2 separate regions of the Homo sapiens genome follow, and region 2 is linked to region 1. The links are contacts of gene promoters, found by promoter capture Hi-C in human tissues and cell types (Jung and others, 2019). All regions are on one chromosome and are shown on one strand. The core of a region is centred on a gene start or on the middle of the fragment in contact, and the rest is flanking DNA. Distances in the headings are between cores, read along the strand shown.

What was found. Contacts are between HindIII fragments. The study calls those that stand out against the background at their distance.
Region 2: a contact is called between a fragment that was not itself captured here and the fragment with the promoter of ZNF605 in region 1, in 2 of the 25 tissues and cell types used here (IMR-90 fibroblasts and stomach).

The regions. Positions count from the first base shown.
Region 1 is chr12:132,954,997-132,957,666 of GRCh38, reverse strand. It overlaps ZNF605 (zinc finger protein 605), which reads left to right and starts at 1,361. Exons shown (of 5, transcript NM_183238.4): 1 at 1,361-1,424. LOC124903064 (a long non-coding RNA gene) reads right to left here and starts at 1,118. Exons shown (of 2, transcript XR_007063552.1): 1 at 937-1,118. RefSeq lists enhancers at 1,151-1,230, 984-1,812, 2,090-2,384, 1,813-2,643 and a silencer at 1,391-1,730. The HindIII fragment of the contact is 15,452 bases long and covers 1-2,670 here.
Region 2 is chr12:133,012,469-133,015,138 of GRCh38, reverse strand. ZNF26 (zinc finger protein 26) reads right to left here. Exons shown (of 4, transcript NM_019591.4): 4 at 1-2,670. Among named protein-coding and RNA genes, the nearest start is that of ZNF84-DT, 23 kb to the left of the region's middle. The HindIII fragment of the contact is 5,610 bases long and covers 1-2,670 here.

The DNA of each region.
Region 1 (2,670 bases), core at 112-2,611:
TCCCGAGTAGATGGGATTACAGGCGCCCACCACCACGCCCAGCTAATGTTCTGTATTTTTAGTAGAGACGGGGTTTCACCGTGTTGGCCAGGATGGTCTCAATCTCCTGACCTGGTGATCCGCCCACCTCAGCCTCCCAAAGTGCTGGGATTACAGCCGTGAGCCACCGCGCCCAACCCTATCATCTATTTTCATTCCTTTTGTCAATACTGCTGGATTGGATGTACTAAATGTAAGGTCCTCTGAGCTGGCCGCACCATGGTCAAGCCATCGTGACATTCCCCCACCCTTGTGATAATGTACTTTGTAATATTCCCGGTCCTTGTGAATGTACTTTGTAACATTCCTCTCCGCCCTTGTGACAATACACCCTCCCCGCCCTTGTGAATGTACTTTGTAACATCCTCCCCTGCCCGCAAAAAATTGCTGCTGAGGCCGGGCGCGGTGGCTCACGCCCGTAATCCCAGCACTTTGGGAGGCCGAGGAGGGCGGATCACGAGGTCAGGAGATCAAGACCATCCTGGCTAACACAGTGAAACCCCGTCTCTACTAAAAATACAAAAAAATTAGCCGGGCGTGGTGGCGGGTGCCTGTAGTCCCAGCTACTCAGGAGGATGAGGCAGGAGAATGGCGTGAACCCGGGAGGCGGAGCTTGCAGTGAGCCGAGATCGCGCCACTGCACTCCAGCCTCGGCGACAGAGTGAGACTCTGTCTCAAAAAAAAAAAAAAAAAAAAAAATTGCTGCTGACTCCACCGCCTATCCTATCCCAAAGCTATAAGAACCAATGACAAGCCCACCACCCTCCGCTGACTCCTTTCTCAGACTCAGCCCACTTGCACCCAAGTGAATAAACAGGCGTGTTGCTCACACTTAGCCTGCTCAGGTGGTCTCCTATACGGACGCACGTAACACTAACATTTACCGATATTACTTACAGCTACGATGAAAAATGGAAAAGCAGCCGGACGCAGTGACTCATGCCTGTAATTCCAGCATTTTGGGAGGCTGGGGCAGGAGGATCATTTGAACCCAGGAGTCGGAGACCAGCCTGAGGCTGCAATGAGCGTTCATGGCACCACTGCACTCCCCACTGGGTGACAGAGCGAGACCCTGCCTCCAAAAAAAAAAAAAAAAAAAACAAGGAAAAGATGCAGACGCTTCCTCCTGGAGGCGCCTTTAGGTTCTCTCACAGACATGTTGGGCCAGCAGTGCTGGCTCCATCCTAGATTTCTTCCAGTCCTCCCCAGTTAGCCGCCAAGGGGCTTTTCCAACCGGAAACCTCCAATCCGCGACCCCGGCGGGTGCACCGCCGAGCCCCCCGGGAAGTGTAGTTCCAGCGCGAGCGGGACGCTGGGAAATGTAGTTCTGCGCGTTCACGTCCCCGATCGGGCCGTGTCCGCCGCGGCCCTGCGAGGTCCGAGGGGTAAGGGAGCGTGCAGCGGGGGCGGGACCACGAGGCGGCGGGGCTGGGGGCGGCCTCTGTGTCTGCGCCGGGGATCGCGGTGACCCCGCTGCGGACCGGCTCGCGGTGACCCCAGCGCGAACGAGCTGGCTGCCGGCTGGGGCGAGAAAGGCCTGCGGACCGGCCTGGGCGCATGCGCGGAAGGCGGGCCTCAGGCGGGGGCTCTGGGGGCGCGCGGGGGTGGGAGGCAGAGGGTGGGGTGGGGGCTGTAGGGCGGGCGGCGGCGGGGCGCTGAATGTGGGTGTCGGGGGAGATTTGGGGTCAGCTGGGCGATTCACTGGGGGCCTATGGAGGTCGCTGTAGACTTGGGGTGCAGCACGGGCGGGGCAAGGGGACGCGAGGTTGCCCTTGGCCCCAGGGGAGAGGGGCCCCTGGGAGGCCGTGTGGAGGATTTGTCTGCAGCGATTAGGACTCTGCTGATGAATGATTTGGATGCCTTTGGGTGAGCATTGGAGGCCAGCGGGGTGAATGATGAGGCTTCTGCGGGGGCCTGCGTTGGAGGGCTTAGGGGCTTGCTTGTGTGGGTTCCATTCACTGGAAAGCCTGCCGGCTGTGACAGTGTTGGATTTCACCAGAGCCCTGTGCTCCTGGAAAACAGCGAAGGTTGAGGAATTTCCCACCCTTTTGGGTTCCAGCAAATGGCTCACTGCAAAGATCTCCCGTTCCCTATATGACTTTGGTCAGCCTCCAGGATGCCCCTTGTTCACACAGACCTGCCACGTTGCCGTCGCTTGCCTCATCGGTGACTGGCTGAACTCCACCGAGCGGTCGGAGCAAAATGCTCCTTAAGCAAACTTTAGCTAAGCTTCTTTCCTTTCCCCATTTTCTTGAGCTTTGGCCCATCCCCAGCCTGAGCCAACACGCAGCCTCGCCTGAGAACAGGCTGGCTCAGGGTCAAGCTTTCCCCGCTCTGCTGTCTGGTCGCCCGCACTTCCACCTCGCTTGGCCAGGCCTGGTCTTTGCTAACCTTGTTCACACCTCTCTGTGAAAGAAAAACCCTTTTTGCCTTGCAGAGATGCACGTGAGTCTCGTGGCTTCACGGTTCTTCCCAGAAGCCCGTTCTCCTTCCCCTTCCCAACCCTCTTCCGCGTCTTTTTTTCCCCACTTCCAATAACCCTTTGGAACCGTCTTTCTTTGCTCTGTCCAGTTGTATGTTTTATTTGACAGCTGAATAACAGTGGTTGCTCTTTCAACCCCTGTCTCCAAT
Region 2 (2,670 bases), core at 58-2,557, 58 kb before region 1:
TGTGATCCACCCACCTTGGCCTCCCAAAGTGCTGGGATTACAGGCGTGAGCCACCACGCCCGGCCAGTAGCTACTACTTTCAATAACACACTTTTATTGGGTCTTGGTGGAGGGAGAGGGCTGAGGGTCTTAGGAACACATAATGGATACAATCCAGCATGTCACAAAGCATTATCATTCTTTCTTCTAGATTATGGCAAAGTTCCTGACTTTTGTTCTTCCCCTTGCCATAAGCCAGTGTTGGATCTGGTCTTGCCTTAGCTGCTACAGCTAACTTTTAAAACCATCATCATGGTCAGGCATGGTGGCTCACGCCTGTAATCCCGGCACTTCGGGAGGCCGAGGCAGGTGGATTACCTGAGGTCAGGAATTCAAGACCAGCCTGGCCAACGTGGTGAAACCCCGTCTCTACTAAAAATACAAAAATTAGCCAGGCGCGGTGGCACACACCTGTAATCCCAGCTACTATGGAGGCTGAGGCAGGAGAATCGCTTGAACCCAGGAGGCGGAGGTTGCAGTGAGCCGAGATTGTGCAATTCACTCCAGCCTGGGTGACAGAACAAGACTCCGTCTCAAAAAAAAAAAAAAACAAAACAAAACAAAAAAAAAAACAGAAAGCAAAACCATCATCACTGCTGGGTGTCAGTGCACCAAGTATATGCTGTAAGTAATTGCCCTTCACTGAACACCCTCAAAGGATTTCACAAGTATCTACCCCCTCCCCCAACTTTTTTTTTGAGACAGGGTCTCACTGTTGCCCAGACTGGAGTACAGTGCAGCTCACTGCATCCTTGACCTCCTGGGCTCAAGTGATCCTCCTGCCTCAACCTCCTGAGTAGCTGGGATTGCAGGTGTGCACCGCTGTAACCAGCTTTTAAGAAACTTTTGTAGACAGGGTTTTGTCACGTTGCCCTGGGTGTTGTCATGCTGAGAAGTTTTGATACATTACTCATTCCTGCAATGCTCTATGAATTCTACATATTTTCCTAAATGAGCAATCCCATCCCAGGGCATGTTTAGTGTAGATTATTGTTACCAAACTGGTAAAAATAAGCCATGGGGAACTGGCAGAATAAGCTTCCTCCTGCAAGGCAAATTCCACATTTTCCCAGAAAAGGGAAGGGGTTCTATCTGTATCAGGAGGTGGCAGGTTTTTTATACCTCAACTACTCAACTGTGCCATGGCTGTGCAAAAGCAGTCAAATAATACACAAATATATTTAGCCATGTTCCAACAACAGTTATTTATGGACACTCAAGTTTGAATTTTATATATTGCCAACATCTACTCTATAGCCTTAAATGAAGCATCTGCAGTGCAAAGTCTATCAGAAGAGTTTGCTAGGCTGAGTCCTCAGGTTCTTCCCAGATACTCCTATTCAAAGTCTATCAGAAGAGTTTGCTAGGCTGAGTCCTCAGGTTCTTCCCAGACATTCCTATTCAAAGTCTATCAGAAGAGTTTGCTAGGCTGAGTCCTCAGGTTCTTCCCAGATACTCCTATTCAAAGTCTATCAGAAGAGTTTGCTAGGCTGAGTCCTCAGGTTCTTCCCAGACATTCCTATTCAAAGTCTATCAGAAGAGTTTGCTAGGCTGAGGCCTCAGGTTCTTCGCAGATACTGCTATTCAAAGTCTATCACAAGAGCTTGCTAGGCTGAGTCCTCAGGTTCTTCCCAGATATTCCTATTCAAATTATCAAGGGATAACTTTTTGAGGGGGGGAAGGGTGAGGATAACTTTTTCAACACATGTTTACATTAAGGGATTTAGTAAACATTTGAGGTGAACTGACTTTAATTCACCAAGCCAAATATACTATTTGATTCCCACCACCTCACTCCTACAGCTGTAAGAAACTTTTTCAGCAATGTCAAAGTTGCCAAGTCTGACACTCCACCCTGAGGTGAGATTTCAGGGCTTCAGGCCTGTCATTCTCATGGTCTAAGATCCAGCAAGATCAAAATCAGCCATCTCTGCCCCTGTCTCAGATTTTCTCATAAATTTAAAATTCTTATAATGCTATAATTCTTCAGTGTTTCCAAAATTTCAGTATCAGGCACTACAACGTTCCAGGTGTACAGAAACAATAACCATATTTCACATGATGGCTAAAAGTTGCTATCTTCAAATATAAACAAGAATGTGATTTTCTTGTCTCAGGAAAAACAAACAAACCTAAATCATATACCCCACTTTGTTAACTACATGCTACCAAGGCAACAACTGATCAGTTAAAGCCCTTAGGTTATAAGAAATAGAAAGCTGGCCGGGCTCGGTGGCTCACACCTGTAATCCCATGACTTTGGGAGGCTGAAGTGGGCAGATCACCTGAGGTCAGGAGTTCAAGACCAGCCTGGCCAACATGGTGAAACCCCGTCTATACTAAAAATACAAATATTAGCCAGGCATGTAATCCTAGCCACTTGGGAGGCTGAGGCAAGGAAATTGCTTGAACCCAGGAGGTGGAAGTTGCAGTGAGCTGAGATCATGCCATTGCATTCCAGCCTGGAGGACAAGAGTGAAACTTAGTCTCAAAAAAAAAAAAAAAAAAAAAAAAAAAAAAACCCAAACAACAAAAAGCAAAAGACATTTTTATTGAGAAGTGAGGAAACACACAGATCAGAGAAGCAGGTTCTAAAGGGATCGTATCCACAGTTATTCTTGTAATCAATTA